Linked DNA regions of Homo sapiens: all the other regions are linked to region 5. The links are contacts of gene promoters, found by promoter capture Hi-C in human tissues and cell types (Jung and others, 2019). All regions are on one chromosome and are shown on one strand. Each heading gives the region's core, a stretch centred on a gene start or on the middle of the fragment in contact. The rest is flanking DNA. Distances are from core to core; before and after follow the strand shown. Region 1 overlaps ADCY2 (adenylate cyclase 2). Region 2 overlaps LINC02123 (long intergenic non-protein coding RNA 2123). Region 3 overlaps ADCY2 (adenylate cyclase 2). Region 4 overlaps LOC105374645 (a long non-coding RNA gene). Region 5 holds the start of ADCY2 (adenylate cyclase 2).

The links. Contacts are between HindIII fragments. The study calls those that stand out against the background at their distance.
Region 1: a contact is called between a fragment that was not itself captured here and the fragment with the promoter of ADCY2 in region 5, in 4 of the 25 tissues and cell types used here (H1 embryonic stem cells, dorsolateral prefrontal cortex, mesendoderm cells and 1 more).
Region 2: a fragment that was not itself captured here is called in contact with the fragment with the promoter of ADCY2 in region 5 in 1 of the 25 tissues and cell types used here (mesendoderm cells).
Region 3: a fragment that was not itself captured here is called in contact with the fragment with the promoter of ADCY2 in region 5 in 3 of the 25 tissues and cell types used here (dorsolateral prefrontal cortex, hippocampus and pancreas).
Region 4: a fragment that was not itself captured here is called in contact with the fragment with the promoter of ADCY2 in region 5 in 2 of the 25 tissues and cell types used here (spleen and thymus).

Annotation. Positions count from the first base shown.
Region 1 is chr5:7,447,933-7,450,632 of GRCh38, forward strand. All of the region lies in intron 2 of ADCY2 (adenylate cyclase 2), which reads left to right. Among named protein-coding and RNA genes, the nearest start is that of ADCY2, 53 kb to the left of the region's middle. The HindIII fragment of the contact is 5,071 bases long and covers 1-2,700 here.
Region 2 is chr5:7,344,683-7,347,382 of GRCh38, forward strand. It overlaps LINC02123 (long intergenic non-protein coding RNA 2123), which reads right to left. Exons shown (of 2, transcript NR_134277.1): 2 at 2,304-2,700. Among named protein-coding and RNA genes, the nearest start is that of LINC02123, 1.9 kb to the right of the region's middle. The HindIII fragment of the contact is 3,992 bases long and covers 1-2,700 here.
Region 3 is chr5:7,428,002-7,430,701 of GRCh38, forward strand. The region is part of intron 2 of ADCY2 (adenylate cyclase 2); the gene reads left to right. It overlaps LOC105374646 (a long non-coding RNA gene), which reads left to right. Exons shown (of 2, transcript XR_925763.3): 2 at 1-1,285. Among named protein-coding and RNA genes, the nearest start is that of ADCY2, 33 kb to the left of the region's middle. The HindIII fragment of the contact is 3,476 bases long and covers 1-2,700 here.
Region 4 is chr5:7,361,936-7,364,635 of GRCh38, forward strand. LOC105374645 (a long non-coding RNA gene) reads right to left here. Exons shown (of 7, transcript NR_188260.1): 5 at 2,409-2,592; 6 at 1,568-1,649; 7 at 1,007-1,180. Among named protein-coding and RNA genes, the nearest start is that of LINC02142, 9.9 kb to the right of the region's middle. The HindIII fragment of the contact is 4,428 bases long and covers 1-2,700 here.
Region 5 is chr5:7,394,826-7,397,525 of GRCh38, forward strand. ADCY2 (adenylate cyclase 2) reads left to right here and starts at 1,313. Exons shown (of 25, transcript NM_020546.3): 1 at 1,313-1,681. The coding sequence starts at 1,472. It overlaps LOC107986403 (a long non-coding RNA gene), which reads right to left and starts at 1,124. Exons shown (of 2, transcript XR_001742597.2): 1 at 1-1,124. RefSeq lists enhancers at 1-628, 629-1,394. The HindIII fragment of the contact is 8,449 bases long and covers 1-2,700 here.

The sequences.
Region 1 (2,700 bases), core at 162-2,661, 53 kb after region 5:
GGCTTCCTACCGAAGGGAGGGGGCAGCTGCAGAGCTTGGCCAAGACTTCCACAGACACGGTGACCAGAGGGTGTCCCTTGAAGAGGCCTCCCAAATATCTTGGCACAAGCACCCCTCTGAAGTTGCTCTGCTTACAACAGGCCCTCTTGTGTGCAAACCCTGTGTGCTGTCTGGGGACACCTGGAACTCTGGCTTCTTCTAATCCCACAAGACCCTGAGGTAGGGATGGGGTCTTTCTGGTTATTGCTTCCCTCAGCTGCAGCTCTGGAGCTCCTTCAATATGAAGAGCTAAGTACCCTGTCCTACTTGTCTCAAAGGAGTTATCAGGAGAATACATTAAAGATGCAGAAGGGTCTCTGAAGAATGTCGTGTGCCAGACCCAGGTCAGGTGCTGTCTGTCCTTTTCCCTCGTGCTCAGAGTTTCTGGTGCAAAAAGATTCTCCCCTGAGTCTCTCTCTGTGTAGCAGATGGCTCTGACTTATTTTATGTAAGGCCTGTAACAGCTGTAGGTGTGTTGGTGTTGATCAGATTCATTCATTATTTTTTTTTTTCATCAACTTTTAAGTTCTGGGGTACATGTGCAGGATGTGCAGGTTTGTTACACAGGTGAGCGTGTGCCATGGCAGTTTGCTGCACAGATCTTCCCATCACCTAGGTTTTAAGCCCAGCATCCATTAGCTGTTCTTCCTGTTGCTCTCCCTCCCCTACCCTCCAACAGGTCCTCGTGTGTGTTGTTCCCCCACATGTGTCCATGTGTTCTCATCATTCAGCTCCCACTTATAAGTGAGAACATGTGGTATTTGGTTTTCTGTTCCCGAGTTTGCTGAGAATAAAGGCTTCTAGCTCCGTCTATGTCCCTGCAAAAGACATGATCTTGTTCCTTTCTGTGGCTGCATAGTATTCCATGGTGTATATGTACCACATTTTCTTTATCCAGTCTATCATTGATGGGCATTTTGATTGATTTCATGTCTTTGTTATTGTGAATACTGCTGTAATGGACATATGTGTGTATGTATCTTTATAATAGAATGATTTATATTCCTTTGGGGTATATACCCAGCAATGGAATTACTGGGTCAAATGGTATTTCTGCTTCTAGACCTCTGAGGAATCACCACACTGTCTTCCACAATGGTTGAACTAATTGACATTTCCACAACAGTGTAAAAGCGTTTTTTTCCCTCTGCAACCTTGCCAGCATCTGTTGTTTTTTGACTTTCTGATAATCGCCATTCTGACTGGTGTGAGATGGTATCTCACTGTGGTTTTGATTTGCATTTCTCTAATGACTGCTATCTTCTCAAGTTCAGAATCTCATGAAGCAAATCCATCAATTCATTCAATCCAGAAAAACCAATTTTTCTTTTAAGAAATGTTGTCCCCCAAAATAGACTGAGAAACAAAAACATGATTCTTCTTAAAATGAGTACTTCAAATGTGTTTTCAGTGTATTCTGTACTATTTTTGATACTGGGGTGAACAAAAGAGCACCTCTGCCTTACCTTTTCCTATGCAGAACTCTATCAGCCTGGTACTTTTTAGTTTAAAACAGAACAAGAACAACCAAGAGGTGCCAGCTTCACTTTCAGGCTGTGCTACTAAATATGAATAGCCAAAAAATACATAAAAATAAAATGGAATATCTGTATTCCCCTATTGTAATACATAATGACTCACTATAGGAGCTGGAAAGAAAAGGAGTTGATTTTCCACACTGGCAACAACCAACTCCATATACAGTATAGGCACACCTCATGTGATTGTGCTTTGTTCTATTGCACTTCTCAGATACTGAATTTTTTACAAATTGAATGTTTTTGGCAACCCTGTGTCAACAAAGTCTGTTGGTGCCATTTTTCCAACAACCTGTGCTCACTTATGTCACTGTGTCCCATTTTAGTCATTGTCACAGTATTTGAAAAGTTTCATTATTATGGTATCTGCTATAGTGACCTGTGACCCATGATCTTTGATATTATTTTAAGTGTTTTGGGGCACCACGAACCGCAGCCACATTTGACGGTGAACTTAATACATGCTGTGTGTCTTTTGACTGCTCCACTGACCAGCTGTTCTCCATCTCCCTCCCTCTTCTCAGGCCTCCTTATTCCCAGAGACATGACAATATTTAAATTAGGCCAATTAATAACCCTACAGTAGCCTCTAAGTGTTCAATGCAAGGAAGAGTTGCATGTCTCTCACTTTAAATCAAAAGCTAGAAATGATTAAGCTTAGTGAGGAAGGTATGTCTTAAGTCATGATAGGCCAAAAGCTAGACCTCCTGCAGTAAACAGTTAGCCCAGTTGTGAATCCAAAGGAAACGTTCTTGAAGGTAATTAAAAATGCTACTCTAGTGAACACGCAAATGGCAAGAAAGCAAGTCTTATTGCTGATATAGAGAAAGTTTGAGTGGTCTGGCTGGAAGATCAAATCAGTCACAACATTCCCTTAAGCCAAAGCCTAATCCAGAGAAAGGCCCTAACTCTCTTCAATTCTATGAAGGCTGAGAAAGGTGAGGAAGCTACCAAAGAAAAGTGGGAATCTAGCAGAGGTGGCTTCATGAGATTTGAGGAAAGACATCATTTCCTTAACATAAACGTGGAAGGTGAAGCAGCAAATGCTGATGCATGTTATCTGAATGATCTAGCTAAGATCATTGATGAAGGTGGCCACACTAAATGACAGATTTTCAAAGTA
Region 2 (2,700 bases), core at 125-2,624, 50 kb before region 5:
TGATGCCTTGATTTCTGACTTTTCACCTCCAGACTGGGAGGGAATGAATTTCTGTTGTGATGAGCCACCCAGACTGTGACCCGTTGTCACAGCAGTCCCAGGGGATTAACACCAAGAGCCCCTTCCTGGCACCATTATCAGAAGCTGCTCAGAGGAAAAATTGGGTTTTAGGTAAACTTTAAATAACAATCTTAGCTTGATCATTTTTTTTTTTTTTTTTTGAGACGGAGACTTGCTCTGTTGCCCAGGCTGGAGTGCAGTGGGGCAGTCTTGGCTCACTGCAAGCTCTGCCTCCTGGGTTCATGCCCCTCTCTTGCCTCAGCCTCCCAAGTAGCTGGGACGAGAGGTGCTCATCACCAGGCCCGGCTAATTTTTTGTATTTTTAGTAGAGACGGGGTTTCACCGTGTTAGCCAGAATGGTCTCCATCTCCTGACCTCGTGATCCGCCCGCCTCGGCCTCCCAAAGTGCTGGGATTACAGGCATGAGCCACCGCGCCCGGACTCAGCTTGATCATTTTTTAGGGTATTCCAGATAGCAATAATAATGCCTTCCATTTATTGACCATCTTGTGGCAGAAATCCTTTGAGCACTTCCCTACTTCCCTAGAGTTCTTTCATGAAACACATCAGCAGCTCTGGGTATTGCCATTTGCAGAATTGAGGAGGGTATGGGAAGCTGAAGTTCAGGGACATTACTTTGCTGTGAATTTGCCACCAGAAATGGTGGTGTCCAGGACTGTATCAAAGCCATATGGCCATGAGGATTTTGCTTTGAGTAAAGTTGGGATAACTTTTAGAGTTCTGTAAGATGGGAGGATGAATTGGACCTTCCTCCTAGGGTGAGGCTTAGATGAGTTCCCACATCTCAGGACACGCAACAGGCTGGGCACAGCCACTGCTGGGTAAAGGCTGCCACTGATATTATTTGTATTATTTTGTTTTTATTATAGTTGTCATCTTGTTGCTTGTCTGTGCTTCTGAAATTACAGTTAAGTGAGCATCCAAAGGCTCTTCTCAATCCCAAAGCCCACCCCTCCGCTTCTGCCCTTCAAGTGGTATCAGTGGAGCACTGCGTGGTTAGGACTTTCGGCGTAAGAGACAATTAATCAAAGTTAATGGACACTTCTTTGTTACACAACACGACTAATGTCAATGGCAAACAAATCACTGAAAAACAATGACCAATAAACCCAACTGAAAGGTTTTTCCATTGAAAATAAAATCAACCATGCCTAATCTACTTGGATTTCAAATGAAGTCATAATTGCTTTTTGCTGAAACTACTCCAGTTACCCAATACCCTGCACCAGTAATGATTAAACAAATCTATGAACTTAAACTTGGGAATTAGTGAAGGGCTTTTCTTCGGGCAAAAAATTGTACAAACAATCCCTAGGATGTTAATCAATGAAACAAATTAACAGTCAGGAGCCCAGGCTCAGAACCTGGTGTACCATGGATTCAAATACTTGCTGTGCCACTTGGCTTCAGATCTTGAACAATTCACTGAATGTCCCATGTGCCTTACTTTGCTAATCCCTATAATGGGGATGATGATAGTACCTGTTTCATTGGATTGTTGGGCTGATTGTGTGAGTGAATACATATAAAATGCTTAGAACAGTGTCTGGCATGTAACGAGCAGTCAAAACAGGGTTGACATTATTATTATTATTTAGATGTTTCGCAAATTACTAGTTTTGTTTTTTCAAATATCTATTCTTCTAAACACTTTTTTTTTTTTCTGGTCAGGCACAGTGGCTCACGCCTGTAATCCCAGTACTTTGGGAGGCCAAGGCAGGCAGATCACTTGAGGTCAGGAGTTTAAGACCAGCCTGGCCAACATAATGAAACCCCGTCTCTACTAAAAATACAAAAAAATTAGCCAGGTGTTGTTGCGGGCGCCTGTAATCCTAGCTACTCTGGAGGCTGAGGCAGGAGAATTGCTTGAACCCAAGAGGTGGAGGTTGCAGTGAGCTGATGTCGTGCCACTGCTCTTCAGCCTGGGTGACAGAGCAAGACTCTGTCTCAAAAAATAAATAAATAAAAATAAAATAAATAAATAAACACATTTTTCTGCATATTCCTTAGAGATAATTGAGTTATGAACTGGGTAAGACTCCAAACGGAGCCCAGTTGCACCTTCGCGTCATCTATATTCCCGTTTTCACATGTCCCTCACACCCGTGCTAGGATGATTGAGTATGACAGAGACATGCCTCCCCCATGCCTGTGCTTTAGGGAACTAGCTCATCCACTTCTCCCACGGCCCCACTGAACTCTGGGCTGAGTAACTAGGCCTCTGGGGTTGGAGGACTAAAGCTCAGAAGTGGGCACCTAAAGAGGAGATTTTCTGGTGCATTCTCTTCCACCAATGTTCTAATGCAAAGTCTATCAGGAAATCTAGGTTTATATATCTCTGAAGAGTGTTTATTCAATTTACCAAAAAGAATATAAAATGTACAGTAAGTTCTTTCTAAAATATAAGTGTTTCCATTATCTTTGATGTATGAGTGAATAAAACATTGATTTAGACAATGTGGCATGTGCCCCAGAAATGGAAATACAGCATTGGTCTGGGGAAGGGATTAATATTTATTGATCACTACTATGTGCCAGACATTTTATATACAACTTATTTCAATTTCAATTTCACATCAACCCAGTACAGTAGGTTTGACACCAATTTTTTAAAAAAGA
Region 3 (2,700 bases), core at 178-2,677, 33 kb after region 5:
TTTAACCAAAGGCAGGCCCCCTCTAAGACTGAGCCCTGTGAGGCTGCACAGGCCACACCCCAGGGAGCTGGGCCTGTCTGCTATCATGCAGAGGGCAGGGGTCGGGGAGCTGAAAGGTGATTTCAGCTTTTCAGGTTTTAGGTTTGAACTGCTGGTAGCAGGTTGATGGAGATCTGAGGACCACTTACATTTTCTATATCATGACTTTGCTTCAGGCAAAAAATTCATACTAGCAGGAGGGAATCTCCAGCCATCTGAAACACAGGGAATGCTGCCTACCTCAGAGAGAATCAATGAGAAAAGTAGAGGAAACAAGGCATAATTTTTAAGTGGCTGCTTATCTTTGTTAGGGGGAAAAACACCAAAAACTATCTTAAGCCAAAGATAGAGTTTTTTCTGCTAAATAAATGGCTTTTCACTCCATGATATATGATTTATAACCATTTTCATTTGCTTAAGTTCAGCTTCCATTTTAAAGAAAAGCTTTAGTTCCCAAGTTTCCATTAATACATACCACACTGTGTACTGGTATAAATTATGTGAAATTGAATTATTTTTCAATAAGCTGGGTTTCATAATTTTATTGTCCAATAAATTCAAAGCTGAGATTAATAAGTATTCTGTTAAAACCAGTGAGGGGATAATTTCATTCCCAAGTAGATAGTGTTTTGTATGTCCATGTTCAAACATGATGCAGAAATTGAGTCCTGATTTACCTCCCCACCTTGAACAGCTAAAAAACAGGACAAAATACTTGAAACAATGGCTTTAAGACATGGGTCAAAGGATACTATGGGAAATTGACCCTGATAAGAAGGGGAACAAAAAAAGTGAACTCTAGGATTGCTCCAGTTTCCTTTCTGGAGAGAGTCCGTGGGCTGTGACACAGGGAGGGGACCCAAACAGAGCCCAGCTAATTGCACTGAGTTGAGGAAACAGAATTCTGAGTTTGGGAAGACAAAGGTGCTGAAATTCTCAGGATGGAATACCAAGAGGTATGAGAAGAGTTGCACAGAGAGAGAGAGAGAGAGAGAGAGCTCTAGTGATTTGTAGAGGGTCCCACCAATTCATCAGCAGAGTACTGACAGGCACATGCCTAAGAGCAATCTACTGAGGCCAAAGAAAAAAGCTCCAGGAAAGAGCAGGTGAAATAATTTCTGGTACTCGCACAGGCCCTGAAAGAGCAGGTACAGTGAGAAGGGGACATTGCCTACTGATAAAGGAATTAGTACCTCAGGAGGAGCTAACAGTTTCAAATACCTGTGCCCCTAGTAAGAGAAATTCAGAATACATGATGTAAAAATCCATGTTTACTCAGAGATTTTAGTACCCATTTCTCAATAACTGCTGAGACAAGAAGAAAGAAAATGAATAAGGATATAGGAGATTTGAAAAGTCCCATTAAACAAGTTGACCTAATTCATCTTTATAGAACACGTCCCAACAATGAAGAGTGTGTTTTCTTTGAAATGCATGTGGAACATTTATTTACTAAGATAGACCATATTCTGGGCAACAAAGTGTTGCTGAGTTTAAAAGGGTTGTTATGATACAAAGTATGTGCTTTGGGCATAATGGACTTAAATTACAAATCAATAACATTAAAAAGTCTGAAAAATTAATAAATAATTGGAAGTTAACCAACACAGTTCTAAATAACCCATGAGTCCAAGAAGAAATTAAGGGGAAATTAGAAAGTATCTTGAATTCAATGAAATGAAAACATGCTGTATCACGATCTGTGGAATGCACCTAAGGCAGTGCTTAGCAGGAAAGTGATAACATTAAATGTTTATGCTGAAAAGAAGAAAGGACTGAAATCAGTAACTTGAACTTTCACTTTAAGAAAATGGAAGACAAATTAAAAGGAACAGAAAACAACAAAATTGGAAGCAGGAAAACAATAATCAGTGAAATCCCAACTGGTTCTTTGGGAAGGTTAGTAAAATTGGTGAAACTCTAGCAAGACTGATTGGGAATAAAGATAGAAGATAAAATGATTGATATTAGGAATATGAAAGGGGTTATTGTTATAGGTTCTACAGACCTTAAAAGTTTAATAAGGAAATATTATGAGCAACTCTTTCCATTAAATTTCACAATATAGATAAAATGGGCAAATTTATTGAAAAGCGAACCAGTAAAACTCATTCAAGAAGAAATAGATAAATGAAATAGCTCTATATGTAGAAATAATTTGAATAGGTAGCTAAATATCTTCCTATAAAGAATGCTCCAGGTCCAAATGGCTTCCCTGGTGAATTATACCAAAGTTTAAAGAATAAGTAATCTCAATTCTACAGAAATTCATCCACAAAATAGAACAGGAAGCATTTCCCAACTCATGTCATGGGGCCACCATTACTCTGATAAAAGCAAAGACATTCCAAAGAAAGAAAACTACAGACCAGTATCTTTCAGGAACATGGACACAAACATTCTAACCAAAATTCAAATCAAAATTTATCAAGTGATTACCACATTTAATCTAGTAACACATATATATGTTCATGTGTGTATGTATATATATATACTATATATATATAGTATATTGATATACTATATATATAGTGTATATATATAAAGGATAACATGAACAAATGTAGTTTATCTCAAGAATGCAGAGTTGGTTTAATATTTTAAAATCAATTTTCGTGATTCACCACCTTAAGGATAATTTCAACAGGTGCACTGTGTGTC
Region 4 (2,700 bases), core at 136-2,635, 33 kb before region 5:
GTCAGGGTGGGCATTCATGTATACAAATTGACCATTCAAAAAGATGGTGTAAAATAAAGGCACCTAAAAAACCCCCAAAAAGTCAGCAATGGCCCTCTAACCAAATGTTTATTAGAAGAAGCCTGTGGTATTTAAAAGGATGAATATAACCCAAGAGATGAGTCCAGAAGAAGTCCAGACCCATCAGCACTTCAGAAAGGCTGAGAAACAACAGCAAAAAGCCATGGAAACCACAATTTTTGCTGCACGTAACTCTAAGCTTCAAAAAATGCTTTCTGTTTATTCTCCAATTCAGTAGATGGTCCCCCCCTGGGTTATACATAGGACTATATCATTATCTTCATTTTGCAGATGAGGAAGCTGATGTTTAAAGACATTATTTGTCTAGGTTATTGATCTAAGGCTGTCCTTGTGTTAGGCTTTATACCTGGACTCATTCCTGACCCCAAACTTTCCAAGGCTGAAACTTGTTTTCTACACTGGTGACAGTTCTTTACACCACACAGTGTGCTATCTTAGTTATTTTTTTCCCTGTAACATAGGTGTACACTGAGTTCCCCTGGAAATACTTGGACAGGAAACATACCCTGTATAGGATGTTTCTTCGACAATCGACATTTAGAATAATGTGGTGTAGAATCAAATAGAATATTTATGTTTAGTGTTTCCTTAACCCAATAAGTGCTGAAATGCAAATCAATAGAAGAGGCAGCCTGTTTCAGAATGAAAAGGAAGGGTGTTCATTTGTTTTACCACCTACTTCACTGTGACACAGCTTGTGGGCCAGACTGCAAACAAGACCTGTCAAAAATCATGCATTGTTCTCTATCCTCCTTGGCTCCATGGTGGATTCCACCTGAAAGTCTCCCATCCAATTCCTGGCCAGGATTACTGTGTTAGATAGAGAACTTAAATGCAGCAACTCCTTGGTGTCTCAAATACTGAGAGTGTGGGTTGTATAGGTTTTTCAAAAAGTGAGGGAAGTTCAATTTAGAAATGCTTCAGGAACAGAGGCAAATTTTCACTGTATTTACAACAGACATAAAGCATGACCCAAATTCATTTACTGGTGAATGAGCTTGAATGTCATGAACTTCAATTACTTCTGTAGAACAGGGGCAAGAAGGCTTCTCCCATCTTCCTCCCAGATGTTTGCTTTGAATGCATAATGTTTCAAACACTGAAAAGAATTATATAAAATTAGCACCATCAATAGTGTTGATACTGTTATGAGATGCTATTTGAAAAGGGCAGAGAGAACCAAATGAGTTTGCATAACTTTCAGTACTATAGATGACCCTTTTTGAACAAGAAGGCCATTTGTCTTCTACATTGGGGACATAGTCCTACTGACGGGAGCACAAAACAAGGATTGTTCTAGACAAGAGAGCTTGTTGATTGAGTCCAAATGTAAAGAAAGCTTTTTTAATATGAAGAATAAAATGCACAGAAGTTGATTAAAGTCTGGATTCTTTCCCTGGCAGGGGTTAGAATAATTTATGCATTTTCCCTCTAAAGTTTCCTGTCTGATTACACCGAGGAGAACAAAGTCATTAAAGGCAATTACCATGTTAATAGACAAGAGATTGAGAATGCTGAAGGTTGGGTAAGTCCATCTTCCTGTCACACACAGTAGTTTTCCCTTCTGCCTGTAGGTTTCCAAATGAATATGAATTGGTAATCAGCATGTTTCATATTCATAATGCAATCAAAATGCATATTTGATTGAATGCCTCATTTAATAAACCAAGAAAATATTCATAACAGTTGTGATACTTAGGGTTTTTAAAAAATTTTTATTGAGGTATAATTACATATAGTAAAATGTGCAGATCTTAAGTGCATACTGTGATATTTTTTAAAAATGTATGTACCTGTGGAAACAACATCCAGTAAAGACATATAGCACTGCCTTCAACCTAGAAAGTCTTTCATGTTTATTGGCATATATTCTCTTTCGCATACCTAGAAAGACCACCATGCTGAACTATGTTCCCATAGATTAGCTCTGCATGTTCTGGAGCTTCATAAAAAAGGAAATGTCTAGATATCATATCTAAGTCTGCCTGCTTTCACTCAGCATAGTATTTCTGGTATTCATCCATGTTGTGTGCACCACTAGTTCATTTCTTTCTACTGCTATTATTCCATAGTATGAATATATCACAATTTGTTTATTTATTCTCCTGTTGATGGATTTTTGGATTGTTTAACATTCTTGCTATTATAAATAAAGCTGCAATAAACACTAGTGTACAAGTAGTTTGTGTAGGCATATGGTTTCATTTCTGCTAGAGAAATACCTTAGAGTTAAATTGCTGGATCATAAATAAGGTAGGTGCACATTTAATTTTATAAGAAACTACCAATTAGTTTTCTACAGAAGTTACACCATTTTGCATTCCTACCTGTGAGCATGAGACATCCAGTTGCTCTATGTCCTGTCTGGCATTTGGTGTTGGAAGTCATTCAAATTTAAACCACTCTAGTGTCTGTATGGTGGTTTTCATTTGCATTTCCACGATGACTAATGGGGTTAAACATCTTTTCATGTCTTTTATGGTCATGTTTATATCTCCTTTTTTGGAATATCTGTGAAAGGAAAATAAATTTTGGGACTCCCAAATCACTAAGGGAAAGGGAAAAATCAAGCAGGGAATTGCTTAGGGCAAACCTGCCTCCCATTCTATTCCTAAAAAA
Region 5 (2,700 bases), core at 63-2,562:
AACTTCCAGAAGGGTGGGTTCCTTTGGTGATAAGCAATGAAGCCCCTTCGGCCCCCAGGGCGAAGGCCAGCGGCCTCCGCTCCCACGCGTGTCGGGAGGGGACACTGTCCCTGGTGACATCCGCCCCCACAACGCTCCTGCCGGGTCTCTAGCGCCTCCTGCGTCCAGGCCCCCAAGGTGACAGGGAGGGAGCTACTCCCAGGGCCGACCCGCCCGCTCCCGCGCCCAGCCGCTCTCCCCGGCGCCCCTTTGCCGCCATCCCCGCTCAGCAGAGGGGCTCGGCGAGGACCACGACCAGCCACGGGGCAGCTCTGTAAACCTGTGATATGACAGGCTTATACGGCACCTCCAAAGTGTGACTGAAGCTGAGCGTGCAGGGCGCAACGGACGCTGCCCCCGCGAGGCCGTGGCGGGGGCTCCCAGTGCAGTCACTGCCGCTTCACTTCCACATGGTGCCGGTCTCCAGTTAGGTCCCCTGGCGTTTCCGCGCCCTGCCGCCCTCGCAGGGAGCCCCGGCCCTCTCAAGAGGGTGGAGAGGATGGGGGAGCCCTCAACCCTGCTACGCTGAGGGGAAGAAGGGCTGGACGGCAAACCGGTGCCCACCGCGGGGAGGCGGGAAGGGTGGGAAATCCTCTCCAGCTCCCCAAAAGAGTGAAAAGGAGGGAGACCCCGCTGTCCTCTGACCCGCGTACTAAAGGAGGGACCCCCCGGGTCCTCTGACCCCGGCTGCGCTCTGTGACTGTGGGGGAGGGTGGGAGCAGGCCCCGCAGCCCACTAAGGGGTGGAGGAAACAGGAGGGTGGCAGCGTCCCTGCCCGCTGACCTTGAGGTAGTGGAGAGGAGCTGAGGAGCCCCGCAGTGCTCCGAGCCAGGTGGGGCGGGGGGAGTGGTGGGGGTAGGACTCCCTCCCTCCACCCCTTAGGCTGTGTTCTCACTTCGTAGCGGGGAGGGCCGTCCCTCCCACCCCACCCACGCTGCACTCGGGATAGGGCAGAGGAGGTGGACGACCTGGTGGCTGAGTGTGGGAGGCCGGCGGGCGAGGACGACCCCGGGCCGGGGCGCAGCGGGAGCCCCTCAGTTCGCCACTCCCCCCACCGTACAGCCCCCGCCGTCCCCAGCCTGCAGCCGGGCCGTCGGGTGGGGGCCGACACCGCCCCTGCACGGAGGCCGGCTGCGCGCGGGGCGGGGAGCGGCGGGCGGAGGGCCCCGTGGAACCCGCCCCCTCCCGCGCGGTGGCGGTGGCGGCGGCGGCGCCGGGAGCTGCCCCCGAGGCCGCCGCCCGGCCCCCGCCCGCGCGTCAGCGCGCCCAGCCCGGGGCGCCGAGCTCCGCCCGCGCCGGAGGCCCCTGCGCGCAGCTCCGGGTGCCGGCAGCCGGGCCGGCCGAGGCGGCGCGGGGGTGGGACGCGGGCGGCCGCGGCGAGCGGCGCTGCCCGGGCCGGGCGCGCACGGCGGGCGCCCTGTGAGCGGCCCCGATGTGGCAGGAGGCGATGCGGCGCCGCCGCTACCTGCGGGACCGCTCCGAGGAGGCGGCGGGCGGCGGAGACGGGCTGCCGCGGTCCCGGGACTGGCTCTACGAGTCCTACTACTGCATGAGCCAGCAGCACCCGCTCATCGTCTTCCTGCTGCTCATCGTCATGGGCTCCTGCCTCGCCCTGCTCGCCGTCTTCTTCGCGCTCGGGCTGGTGAGTGGCCTCCCCGCGGGTCCAGCGCCGCGCCTTCCCCGGCCCTGAGAGGAGCCCGGCCAGCCGAGCCGCGTCCCGCTCCGGGCTGCCCCTCGGCCCGCGGCAGCCCCTCGGCCCGCGGCAGCCCCTCGGCCCGCGGCTCCCTGCTTCTCCTGCTGGCCCGCGGCCCGGTGGACTCTGGCAAGGGCTGCGGGCGGGAGAAAAGTTTCCTGGGAAGGCTCTTCCCAAAATAAAGTTCCCGAGGTGTTCACCAGGTGGACGGGCAGGGCGTGTGCTTTTTGCATCTTTGCGCACCCGCTGGCAAACTCTGCGCTTTCCGCCGGGCACCGCTGCCCGCAGCGCTGGAATAGGTCTTCCCCGACTCAGCCCTGGGCTTCCTGGGCGAGTCGCTGTCTCCTGCCCGGTTCCACTGGCATGGCCCCACAGTTGGCATTTTAGTTGGGATTGGGCGTTATTCAACTCTGCAGAAAGCCTGCCTTGGGAAAGTGGTTAATGACAAGGAAAATGAAGAAGAAAAATTAAGTATACATCTTTGCCTTTAAATCTGTATGCATTTAGCTCTTTAGCCCGATAGACGGAAAGTGATGTGGTGTTGACTTGTGAATCAATCTTTCATCTCAGAGACTACAGTTAAGAAGCGTTTGGGACGGACGATTGCTTTCCCGTTTCTAAAGAAGTAACGTGTTTAGGGTTTTGGACAGGTTATTAAAGTGGATTTCATCACGAGGAGTATAATGCAGCTCAACAGCTGATGTCAGTTTTGCCAGTTTATATTTTTCAAGCAGAAATCCTTGGCTCGCTCCCTTGAAAAGTGAGGGGAAGTCTGTAGATGGCGATAACTTCCTGTTACTGATCTCTGAGTGTGTGGTTCAAACTTTTGCACTGCCTGTGACATGCATGTGCAGATTTTGTGCGAGGCATTGATTATCCACCAGTGAGTTTTTTTTTTTTTTTTTTTTTTTTTTTTAGTCAGTGGTTGATCTGTGAATGTGTCCACTGGGTGATGTATTTTGAGCTTA